Regions from separate parts of the Homo sapiens genome. Here regions 1, 2 and 3 are each linked to region 4. Evidence: promoter capture Hi-C in human tissues and cell types (Jung and others, 2019). All regions are on one chromosome and are shown on one strand. The core of a region is centred on a gene start or on the middle of the fragment in contact, and the rest is flanking DNA. Distances in the headings are between cores, read along the strand shown. Region 1 holds the start of ALG10 (ALG10 alpha-1,2-glucosyltransferase). Region 2 has its middle 110 kb from the start of ALG10. Region 3 has its middle 17 kb from the start of ALG10. Region 4 holds the start of PKP2 (plakophilin 2).

What was found. The method cuts DNA at HindIII sites, captures the fragments that hold promoters and counts their contacts. A contact is called where the count stands out against the background at its distance.
Region 1: a contact is called between the fragment with the promoter of ALG10 here and the fragment with the promoter of PKP2 in region 4, in 2 of the 25 tissues and cell types used here (mesenchymal stem cells and mesendoderm cells).
Region 2: a fragment that was not itself captured here is called in contact with the fragment with the promoter of PKP2 in region 4 in 1 of the 25 tissues and cell types used here (dorsolateral prefrontal cortex).
Region 3: a contact is called between a fragment that was not itself captured here and the fragment with the promoter of PKP2 in region 4, in 1 of the 25 tissues and cell types used here (dorsolateral prefrontal cortex).

The regions. Positions count from the first base shown.
Region 1 is chr12:34,021,051-34,024,324 of GRCh38, reverse strand. ALG10 (ALG10 alpha-1,2-glucosyltransferase) reads right to left here and starts at 1,829. Exons shown (of 3, transcript NM_032834.4): 1 at 1,555-1,829; 2 at 166-363. The coding sequence starts at 1,725. RefSeq lists silencers at 1,823-2,009, 1,923-2,072. The HindIII fragment of the contact is 12,723 bases long and covers 1-3,274 here.
Region 2 is chr12:33,914,306-33,917,433 of GRCh38, reverse strand. No RefSeq gene overlaps it. Among named protein-coding and RNA genes, the nearest start is that of ALG10, 110 kb to the left of the region's middle. The HindIII fragment of the contact is 4,943 bases long and covers 1-3,128 here.
Region 3 is chr12:34,037,582-34,040,674 of GRCh38, reverse strand. No RefSeq gene overlaps it. Among named protein-coding and RNA genes, the nearest start is that of ALG10, 17 kb to the right of the region's middle. The HindIII fragment of the contact is 3,582 bases long and covers 13-3,093 here.
Region 4 is chr12:32,895,174-32,898,199 of GRCh38, reverse strand. It overlaps PKP2 (plakophilin 2), which reads left to right and starts at 1,423. Exons shown (of 13, transcript NM_001005242.3): 1 at 1,423-1,691. The coding sequence starts at 1,469. RefSeq lists silencers at 1,015-1,114, 1,315-1,424. The HindIII fragment of the contact is 8,511 bases long and covers 1-3,026 here.

The DNA.
Region 1 (3,274 bases), core at 580-3,079, 1.1 Mb before region 4:
ATTCTAAAATGGAGATGGAGGATTTAAATTTACCTTTACATAATATACAAAAATACAAAGTTACAAAGTGTTAAAGACATTTTTCACCAAATCTCATAAAACTAATTCATTGTAATTGTGGACCTGACTACACATAAACTTGTAATTAAGTATTTTGAAACATACCTTGTTTCTGGGTTGTACCTTGCAGAAAAGCAAATATAGTAAATAGAAGTTGCCAACACTGAAGAGAAGATTAACAAATCTGAGCATCCCAATGGAGCAGACAACATGTTCAGACCATCCAAAGATCCAAATGGCAGGTTTGATCACTCCAATTGACACCAGGTACAAGCCAGGTAATGTAGTAATCATGGGATCCCACTTTAAAATGAAAGAAAATGAAGTAAAAGCAAGAGGTAATAGGAACAAGACAGGCACAAATATGTCAAGCCCAAGTCTCATCTCCAGCAACAATCAGAAATTTTGAGAAGTTATTCTATGACAAGATTAAGTAAGTCCTTGGCAGAACAGGATTCGTTTTTCTTATTTTTTGCCCCCGGACCAGCTTAGTGATGGTTCAGGTAGCAGCAACCAATAAACAACAACAACTTAAAATCTATTTCTATTTTCCAAGAAATGTTCTTTAAAAGCCTTTATTTTGATAAATAAACTGCAAATGTTCCAGTTTTTAAAAGCATGGAAACATTGTTTGGGACTCTTAAGTTTAGGAAAACATTTGGACCACAGGCTCCATGATGACAGCTAACATAAACTGAGACAGAAATTGTTGCCAAACCCTCTGTATTAACGTTACAATATGCCCTATAGTAAAGATTATTGTCATTTTGCAGATGAGTAACCTGAATTTCTGAAACTCAGAACATCTCCAAGATCACAAAACTAGTAAATCACAGCACCAAGATTTAAGATCAGATCTTTCTCTAAAACAGACTTTATATTTCTAGCCAGTACCCTATATTGTGTCACCAGAGAAGCAGGGGATGCTTATTTTGATATTTATATGTACATACTTGCACAGTCAAATATATACTCAAAAATGATGTGACTTGACTGGTTGCCAGTTTATCCAGTTAACAGTTCACTAAAAATACCCAGGGAAGGAATTTGTGATTATAAATTGTCACTTTTTGGTAGCTGAAGATCCCTCCAGTCCACCCTATCCCACCCCTAAAATGCACAGTGAGGTGCTTGACAGGTGAGCTAAAGGAAAGTTTTCTGGTATTTCCAAGGAGCACCCGAATGCCTTTAATCCTAAAACAAGGAAAGACAAAGTGGGATCGATATCGTCAGCTGCCAAGAGGAGGGCTCAGTTCCCCGTTGAGTATTCTCCCAGATCACTCCTTCCTGGAGGACAGATCTGCTGTTTATTCATTCATTTAATAAATATTTCACAGATCTCAGAGACAGGAACAAAAGACTATACCCAGTTTCTTTCATGTTCTGAGGCTTGAGGGGGTGGAACAGGACGAGTGAAGTCTAAGGATGGGAGGACGTGGGGACGCTGGGACCTCTCAGGCCTCTCCTGGGGTGGGGACAGGTTGGGGACCCCACCTGGGAAAGGGAGAAATGGCCCTCACAGTAGCGCTGCGCCTGAGGCAGGTGGAAGATCTCGTCCATGTAGGGCTCTCGCAACGCCCGGCTGAAGGCGGAGAAGAGGAGGCAGGATACTAAAAAGGTACAGCTCAAGGCGGCCGAGAAATAGTAACCTTCCAGCTGCGCCATTCCAGCTCCCACAGCCACTGCCCAAGAACCTACTCCTGGAAAATTCTGAGCCTGGAAACCCGAGCTGGAAACTTGGGCTCGAAATGGGCGCGCTAGGCGGGACTAGCCAGACGGGGCCACATACCGGAAGGCAAAGGATGCTGGGAGAGCGCGGATCCGGAAAGATCGGGTCGCTGTTTCCCGGAGTGACGGGTTTAGATAACGGACCGGATGATTACCCTCTCAATCGCATTGCCCGGGGCGCACAAAGTGTCAAAACTTCCGGAAGGGGCGGGTCTCGGATTTCGCCAGCGCGGGAGGTGCGTGGCTTGCTGCTTAGAAAAAAAAAAAAAAAAAAAAAAAAAAAAAAGCCGCTTCTTAGCTTGGATCTTTTTTCCTGCTCACTTCCATCACTTACCAGAAGGTGGCGACGTTTCCCCACGTTTCCAATTCCAAGCCCTAAAATGGACACATTTTTTCCCCCGTTATTTCTGTTATTTCTCTCCAGTGATCCGAATTAATTAAACCCTCAATTCCAAGACATTTCATTCCATCAACTTTGGAGTGTAGGAAGGGTGCGTTGGTTGTGATAGCAAAGACTGAGAGTTTTAGATGAAAACTTGAAGAACCAGAGACCCGTCAATGCCGAATGAACTTCAGTGAGAGGAGTGTTTGTTCGTTTGTTTGTTTAGGTTAAAAGAGAACTCTTTCAAAATGTGGATGCTCTCAGAGGATTTAGTTAAATTGACATTCCTAGTGCACTTTCATAGTCATATTACCCTGTAGGATTTGGAAAATACATATATATTTTAGAATTCGGGATGTTTTAGGTGTGCCTGTAAATTTGGTTGTTAATATCTGTAAGGCAGCCTTCTGTTTTTCCTACTAAATCATAAGCGTGAACATCTTAGTGGGTGGCATTATACATCCTTTATGTTTGTAGTCCCCAAAATGGCTTTCACACAGTAGGCACTTAAATTTGTGGACTTTTATAGGCTGTGTAGACATCATCAAATTCCTGTATTCTGGGATTAGGTGCTGGGGGCAGGAGATGAGGTAAATAATTTGAAGAATGCCGAAGATAAATTATGTGTTGTAATTTTGTCTTGAGCATGGTTGGCCATGTTTTGTAGAAAAACTATTTCTCAGGTAACCTCAATCAGGTTGCCTTTGGCAGGAATATATCAGAATTTAGGCGGGATTTAAGGTTGCAAACCTCAGAGTTCTCAATTGAGCTCTTTTTCTGGGTTAAAACTAATTCAGTATTTCTAAACTTAAGAAAGTTTCTTAAATTAAGCTGACTGCCTTTCCATTCTGTCTCTGCCTGTTTCCTCAATGATAAGAGGAAGTAGTGGTGAATGAGGGCTGGGATGGGAACATTTACATTACTGGAATAAAGTCATGTGAGGATCCTACTCTGATGTGATGCTTAGCTTTGTTTTAACCATTATCTCCCATTTTATTGTTGAGTCCATGCTGTACTTATCTGTTTAAGTCACTTGTAACACATCTCCAGATGATTCAGTCTTCAAGAGGTTGATGTGATCTACAAGTAATTAGCTCCTGACCT
Region 2 (3,128 bases), core at 433-2,932, 1.0 Mb before region 4:
ATTTTATGGGGCCAGCATCATCCTAATACTAAAGCCTGACAGAGACACAACAAAAAAAGAGAATGTTAGGCCAATATCCCTGATGAACATTGATGCAAAATCATCAATAAAATACTGGCAAACTGAATCCAGCAGCACATCAAAAAGCTTATCCACCACTATTAAGTCAGCTTCATGCCTGGGATGCAAGCGTGGTTCAACATATGCAAATCAATAAATGTAACCCATCACATAAACAGAACCAATGACAAAAGCCACATGATTATCTCAGTAGATGCAGAAAAGACCTTTGATAAAATTCAACAGTGCTTCATGCTAAATACTCTCAATAAACTAGGTATTGATGGAACGTATCTCAAAATAATAAGAGCTATTTATGACAAATCCACAGCCCATATCATGCCGAATGGGCAAAAACTGGAAGCATTCCTTTCGAAAACTGGCAGAAGACAAGGATGCCATCTCTCACCACTCCTATTCAACGCAGTACTGGAAGTTCTGGCCAGAGCAATCAGGCAAGAGAAAGAAATAAAGGGTATTCAACTGGGAAAAGAGGAAGTCAAATTGTCTCTGTTTGCAGATGACATGATTGCATATTTAGAAAATCCCATAGTCCCAGCCAAAAATCTCCTTAAGCTGATAAGCAACTTCAGTAAACTCTCAAGATACAAAATCAACGTGCAAAAATCACAAGCATTCCTATACACTAATAACAGGCAAACAGAGAGCCAAATCATGAGTGAACTCCCATTCACAATTACTACATAAAGAATAAAATCCTAGGAATCCAACTTACAAAGGATGTGAAAGGCCTCTTCAAGGAGAACTACAAACCACTGCTCAATGAAATAAAAGAGGACGCAAACAAATGGAAGAACATTCCATGCTCATGGAAAGGAAGAATCAATATCGTGAAAATGGCCATACTGCCCACGGTAATTTATAGATTCAAGGCTATCCCCATCAAGCTACCAAAGACTTTCTTCACAGAATTGGAAAAAAACTACTTTAAATTTCATATGGAACCAAAAAGAGCCCGCATAGCAAAGACAATCCTAAGCAAAAAGAACAAAGCTGGAGACATCAGGCTACCTGACTTCAAACTATAATAGTACAAGTCTACAGTAACCAAAACAGCACAGTACTGGTACAAAAACAGGTATATAGACCAATGGAACAGAACAGAGGGCTCAGAAATAACATCACATATCTACAACCATCTGATCTTTGACAAACCTGACAAAAACAAGCAATGGGGAAAGGATTCTCTATTTAATAAATGGTCTTCGGTAAATTGGCTTGCCATATGTAGAAAGCTGAAACTGGGTCCCTTCCTTACACCTTATATAAAAATTAACTCAAGATGGATTAAAGTCTTAAATGTAAGACCTAAAACCATAAAAACCCTAGAAGAAAACCTAGGCAATACCATTTAGGACATAGGCATGGGCAAAGACTTCATGACTAAAACACCAAAAGCAATGGCAAGAAAAACCAAAATAGACAAATGGGATCTAATTAAACTAAAGAGCTTCTGCATAGCAAAAGAAACTACCATCAGAGTGAAAGGGGAACCTACAGAATGGGAGAAAATATTTGCAATCTATCCATCTGACAATGGGCTAATATCCAGAATCTACAAAGAACTTAAGCAAATTTACAAGAAAAAAAAAACCATCAAAAAGTGAACAAAGGGTATGAACAGACACGTCTCAAAAGAAGACATGTATGCAGCCAAGAGACATATGAAAAAACGCTCATCATCACTTGTCCTCAGAGAAATGCAAATCAAAACCGCAATGAGATACTATCTCGTGCCAGTTAGAATAGTGATCATTAAAAAGTCAGGAAACAACAGATGCTGCAGAGGATGTGGAGAAATGGGAACGCTTTTACACTGTTGTTGGGAGTCTAAATTAGTTTAACCACTGTGGAAGACAGTGTGGCAATTCTTCAAGTATCTAGAACTAGAAATACCATTTGACCCAGCAGTCCCATTACTGGGTATATACCCAAAGGATTATAAATCATGCTACTATAAAGACACATGCACACGTATGTTTACTGCGGCACTATTCACAATATCAAAGACTTAGAACTAACGCAAATGTCCATCAATAATAGGCTGGATGAAAAAAAAAAAGTGACACATATACATTCTCAGCAAAATATCACAAGGACAGAAAACCAAACACCACATGTTCTCACTCATAAGTGGGAGGTGAACAATGAGAACACACGGACACAGGGAGGGGAACATCACATACTGGGGCCTGTCAAGGGGTGGGGGGGCTAGCGTTAGGAGAAATACCTAATGTAAATGACTGGGGGAGGGATAGTGTTAGGAGAAAAACCTAATGTAAATGATGAGTTGACAGGCGCAGCAAACCAACATGGCACATGTATACCTATTTAACAAACCTGCAAGTTGTGCACATGTACCTTAGAACGTAAAGTATAATATAAAATAAGAAAATATTAATAAGGTAATTAAAGCCCTAGCTAGACTAATAAAGAATAAAAGAGAAAAGATCCAAATAAACATAATTAGAAACAACAAAAGGAATGGTACCACTGACTCCACAGAAATACCACTAACTATCAGAGACTACTATAAACACCTCTATGCACACAAATGAGAAAATCTAGAAGAAAAGGATACACACCTGGAAACACTCACTCTCAAAACTGATCCAGGAAGAAAAATGAATCCTAAACAGACCAATACAAGTTCTAAAATTGAATCAGTAATAAATAGTCTACCAACCAAAAGAAGCCTAGAACCAGATGGACTTACAGCTGAATTCTACCAGATGAACAAAGAAGAGCTGGTAACATTCCTACTGAAACTATTCCAAAAATTTGAGAAGGAGGGAATCCCCCCAACTCATTCTATGAGTCTAACATCATCCTGATACCAAAACCTGTCAGAGACACAGCAACAACAACAAAAAACTTCAGGGCAATACCCTTGATGAACATTGATGCAAAAATCCTAAAAAATGTACTAGAAAATCAAATCCAGCAGCACATTAAAAAGCTAATCCACCACAATCAAGTAGGTTTTATCCCTGCAATGTAAGGTTGCTTCAACATACACAAATCAATAAATGTGATTCATCACATAA
Region 3 (3,093 bases), core at 554-3,053, 1.1 Mb before region 4:
AACCTTACACTGTGTGCAATTAACAGCCATTTAATACTTTTTGTATGTATTTTCCTTTCTCATTTGATCTAATAGGTTCACCTTCCTAAGTTCACCTTCCTAGGTTCACACAGCATGCTAATGGCAGAACCAGGACTTGAATCCAGGTATTCTGACTCTAGCTCAAGTGTTCTGTATTTATAGCTGAATAACTATTTTAGACAAGGACAGTCTATCAAAATTTAGTGTGTAGCAGAAAGTTGGCTGGTTATTTTGTTCAATGTATTTCTCCTTTACTTATTAGAGAAAAGTTATTTCAATAATTACAAAATAGTTATCAATTCGAATATTTTAAAGGTTTTGATCTTGGTTAATTTACCCTTATCAAATATTAAGCCCAAATTACAAAGCCCTTAAAAAATATGAAGCCAAATTCAATTAAAATTTTTTTCTTAGATGCCTGCTAATTATTTCTCATAATAAGCTAGTTTTCTTCCAAAAACTACACCATTATTTCAATTCGATGAAAATTTGTTCTTGATGAAGGAAAACTGGATTTGGAAGATAGAAAAATTAAGTTAATCCTCTGACATTGTAATGATAAACATTTAACTCAGAATTTACTGAAAAAAAATTAGAGTATATCTAGAGATTCAGATTACATGCAAACAAATTTACAGTCTTCCAAATTGCATTATTTGTCTTTTGAAACGGAGAAAATCTCATTGGATGATCAATAGTTCACAGAATTTTTCATATGTTAATAAAGAGAAAAAATTAACACAAGGAAAGGTCCAGTATAATACCAAACATTACAAAACAGAAAAGATCCAGTCTATCAACATTCTAGCTACACAGAATTCAAACATCAAGCTAGGTGTCAGGTTGCATTATATGTAACTCAAAACCATTTGGAGATTTGGAGAAACTTCCAAATTGCATTCCTTTCAGAAAGCTAAAATCCATGACTATTTTAAAAAATTTACCTTCCATGTCACTCACATTACATAACAAATAGAATCACTGCTTTCATTCCTTATCAAGTAACCTGCTCTATAGCACAGCTATCAGAGAATGGCAGGCTGCTTTTCTAATGGCCTGATTAAGGGAAACAAGAATTTCCCATAGAGAAGCTTTTGGAAGCCTTTTATTACTATATATACATTACTATATTTTTATTACTCTCTATATATTACTATATATATATAAAACAAATTCCACATTTATTAAAACTATTTATAAATTCCAGGTTTGACTGGTATTCCAATTGGAAAGAAAGAGAAAATATCAAGGTTTCTACATATTCTTTTTTTTTTTGAGACGGAGTCTCGCTCTGTCACCCAGGCTGAAGTGCAGTGGTGCGATCTCCGCTCACTGCAAGCTCCGCCTCCCGGGGTCCCGCCATTCTCCTGCCTCAGTCTCCCGAGTAGTTGGGACTACAGGCGCCCGCCACCACCCCCGGCTGATTTTTTTGTATTTTTAGTAGAGAGGAGGTTTCACAGTGTTAGCCAGGATGGTCTCAATCTCCTGACCTCGTGATCGCCCGCCTCGGCCTCCCAAAGTGCTGGGATTACAGGTGTGAGCCACCGCGCCCGGCCCTAAATACTTTTTTTTTTTTTGAGATGGAGTCGCTCTGTTGCCCAGGCTGGAGTGCAATGGCACGATCTCAGCTCACCGCAACCTCCGCCTCCCGGGTTCAAGCGATTCTCCTGTCTCAGCCTCCAGAGTAGTTGGGATTACAGGCATGCACCACCACGCCCGGCTAATTTTATATTTTTAGTAGAGACAGGGTTTCTCCATGTTGATCAGGCTGATCTCGAACTCCTGATCTCAGGTGATCCACCCGCCTCGGCCTCCCAAAGTGCTGGGATTACAGGCGTGAGCCACTGTGCCAGGCCTTACGTATTCTTAATTATGGGGAATAGAATGCAGCTATGATTATCTGCTTCAAGCTTCTAACCACATGTTTTCAAAATGCTCAATGACAAAAATAAGCAAATATATTTGCTTAAAGCTAAAAATGTTCAAAGAATGCATTTAAAAAAATGAAAAAATCACTAGCATCTGTGACATTATGAAGGTAAGTAAAATGGTACCAAGTTCCTGTCAGACTAATAACTGGAAAAGCTGTCCAAGAGTGCCACCTTGAGGGAAAATTTAAGACAATGCATTTTGAAAACAAAATTGGCATAAAGGGTTTCAGCGTTGCCCATCACAGTTACCCCAACTAAAGAACATCACTGTAAATTATTATAGTACAAGTGAAGAGATAAGCACGGTCTTTCAACTCAGATCCTATTATATTCTTCTGTCTTTTCATATCAGTATTCCACGTGTATTTCATTTGAACGTGCCTCCTGGATGAGATATTATTTTAATGGAGAAAGGTATTCTTAGAGTCACTGGTATGTGAAGAAAGGATTCCTCTCTTTTTTTCTACTCTTTCTGGTGGTTCCTTTCTCTGTCTTCAGTCTTCCTACTTACTCTCTTCCTTCTTTTCCTAGCAATACCCCTAAAGTTCTCATGCTCATGATCCCCAGAAATACTTGTGCTTACGTGCGGGCAGGCAGTGTGTGGGTATGTGTCGGGGATATGGTTGGAGAGCTGGAGGGAATAGAATATGACATTCTCATATGCTCTTAAAATATTAATAACCAATTAGCTTTAATGTGTTACTTTTCCTTGCATTTCCTGCATTTTATGATACATTTCCCTGCATTTCAAAGAACAAAATTTATGACCAAGACATAGATTTCTAGATGTGGCTAAGTAAAAACTACTGACTTAGATCAAGATCATCCCCTCCCATGGTTCTCCAAAGCCCAGGGCCTGTTTATACCTCTGAAACCTTACAGTGTATTTGGCCCAAAGACCCAATGTATACATTACACACACACGGACACACACACACACACACACACACACACACACAGTGAAGATTCTAGGTCAAGCTAGGTTTCTTCATCTAAATTTGATTTCTTCACTAGACCTTTAGAGAGTGATAGCGTTGCAAGGAAAATATAAAAATTACATAGAACAGTACTTACTGAGAAAGACTGATAGGGTACCTGCTACAGCTCATGAAACGTTTCTCCTAAGACTGCATCTCTCCTC
Region 4 (3,026 bases), core at 174-2,673:
GACAAAGGGTGGCGGAACTGTCACTACTCTGTTGTCCACGCTTTCAGTCCTTTGGTTTCCTCTTCACTCCCTGGACGCTCATGTAAAAAGGGAGGCCATATACCTGTGCATTGTGTGTCTAAGCATTCAGTGTGTGTCTAAAGGCAGAAGGGTGTGGGTAGGAAAACAAAGACGAGGGAAGCTGCGTTCTCCAAACACTTCAGACTTGAGTAAGTGGGGTTTTGCAGCAATTGAGTGATTTGAGGGAAAGTGAACATACAAACCCAAGCAATCAAAGGGAATATTATCTTAATACCAGGGATACATGTTTTTCTTTCTGCCTCTTAAGTCCAAAGAGGCAAATCAGGACAAGTGGCTTTGGTTGTAAACTTTAAGGTCAAGGATCCTTTCTGTTGAGCTTAGCTCTCAAGTTCTCAGTAGTCAACTGCGGTGAAACATAATTAATAGCACGATAAATACAAGTTGTGGAAGATTCGATTGAAAGTTGGAGGCCCTCTCCGTGGATCTCTCTACAAAGAGCCTGTAATAAAGAGGACTTAATCAACGTTAGCAGGGCTATTTAAAAAGCATCGTCTATTAAAATTCATTTCTTCTCTAGAGCCTCTTGTTGGAGTTTCTCTGTGTGGGTGTGTTCGTAAGAGAGGAATGGGTTAGCAAGAGTACTGGGTACAATTTGTGTATCCAAGAGAAAACAGAAGCTCTCAATGAGGAAGAACATATGTTTCTGGGACTGCATCTGTGCAAAAAGTACATAGTCCTGACGTTGTACTAAGAAAAAAAACACTCTCTTTAGAAAGTCTTTTATTTCACACGTTATCTTCTTGGCACATTTCCCTCATATTGCCCTTTCCGCCTGACCAAATAGCCCTTTCTCACCCTCAGGTCCAGGAAAACCAGGAAACGTTTCCAACAGTGCGACAAAGCCTGACTAACCAGACATACTACTCGCTCGGGGATCCCGGAGGCAAGCCTCAGTCCAAGAACAGGAGTGACTCTCGAGGGCTCACCTGCCTGCAGGGCAGCCCCTCCCTGCATCGAGCGGAAATCCATCCTGTCCAGCGCGGGGCGTGGGCAGAGCGGGGCGCGGCCCCGGCAGGCGGTATCCGCTGGGACTCCGACAACGTGCGCGACCCCAGGCGAACCGCGCCCCTCTCCCCACCTCCCCGCGGGCGGGTACAAGTCTCCAGGTGTCCGCGCGCTCAGCGGGTCCGGCCCGCCCCCGCCCCCGCCCCCGGGCCCGACTGCGCGTGCCCGGCCGGAGCCGCGCCCCCTCCTCAGGGAAGGCCGGGCGTCCGGCCCACGAGGCCGAGCTCCCCCCCGGCCCGGGCCTCTCACCGGCGCGGGGGGCGGGCCAGGGGCGGGGCCGGACTCGAGCGGGGCGGGGCTCGCGCCAGCGCCCCCAGCTCCGTGGCGGCTTCGCCCGCGAGTCCAGAGGCAGGCGAGCAGCTCGGTCGCCCCCACCGGCCCCATGGCAGCCCCCGGCGCCCCAGCTGAGTACGGCTACATCCGGACCGTCCTGGGCCAGCAGATCCTGGGACAACTGGACAGCTCCAGCCTGGCGCTGCCCTCCGAGGCCAAGCTGAAGCTGGCGGGGAGCAGCGGCCGCGGCGGCCAGACAGTCAAGAGCCTGCGGATCCAGGAGCAGGTGCAGCAGACCCTCGCCCGGAAGGGCCGCAGCTCCGTGGGCAACGGTGAGTGGAGCCCGCCGCTCCCCGGCGCCGCCCCCTGCCCCACACCCGGTCACCTCCTCCTATCCCGCCCTCACCCCGCGTGCTGGGAGTGCGGGACCCCGTGTTCTGCCCACCTGTTGCTCGCCGTCTTCGGTATGACCGACTTGCTTGTGGAAAGCACTCTTTTCCATAACCTATTACTCAGCTTTGTCATATAGGTACCTATGTATATTAAATATTGTACATATCTATCAATGTTAACTAACTCACTTCAAGATTTCACCCCTTTCTTTTTCTACTCCGCCGGTCCGCGCCCCTCACTGGTGCGGACTTAATTTGAAGGTTCAGGGAGTCTATAAACACCTTGAGATGCTATGCAGAATTTTTGGTGTGTACGATCTTTTTCTGGGAGAAGGAGCCCTTCAATTTTATTAGATTTGTTAAATAATTAATGACCCCCATAAATATCTTGGGGAAAAAAACCGACAGCACTGGCGCTCCTACAACCTATAAATTGGGATTGTGCTGTCTTATGCAAGTACTTCGGGGCGCTCCACCCTGTGTGGGAGGCGAGTGGTGGATCTAGGGAGTGAAGAAAAGTAGTTAGGAGGCTTTGGTCCAGGGAACAAACACGCCGAGGAGGAGGTAGGGGACTTTGGCCCTGCCGGCAACAGCCGTGCCCGCCTAGCTGCGCTTCCTACCCCCACCAGTGCGGGCGTGATGCAAGTCTGATCCCTCCAAAAAATTAAACCCGAAGGTGAAAGGGGTGTAAGCACACACATGCACACTATGTTCATGATTGATAGACGGGGGAGGTGGAAGGGAAAGAAGATGGCAAGCCACTTGTGAAAATTAGAGATCATGATGTATCCTTTTCTCCCCTGCTGAAGTCAGGTGATGGGATCAACTCAGTGACCCTTGTTTTACTTCTTGTTGCTGTGTATGTGAGTTTGCATTATAAAAGCACTATGTTGGCTTATAGCAAAAAGAAGAGGAAAGAAATTGAGCAATTAAGTTGGAATATCTGTTTCCTGCAACGTTCAGTTGTTTCTGTATGAAGTAACTTGGGCATTGGCGAATGTAGGCTAACCCATTCTAGTTTCTATTAGGAAAACAGAAAAATTCTAACAGGCCAGACCAGAGATTTCAAACAGCAGAGTCTGGGAGGCTGTACTGTGTGTGTAAAAGAATCCTAAAGGATGACGTAGTCAATATTAACATACTTGAAAGGTAAAGAGAAGATGTTCAATGATCGTAGTTAATATAACTGAGTGCATACTATGTGCCAAGAATTGGGCGATGTGGTTTGCATTCATTTGAGATATATATATATATATGTATTTAAAAACTTGTGAG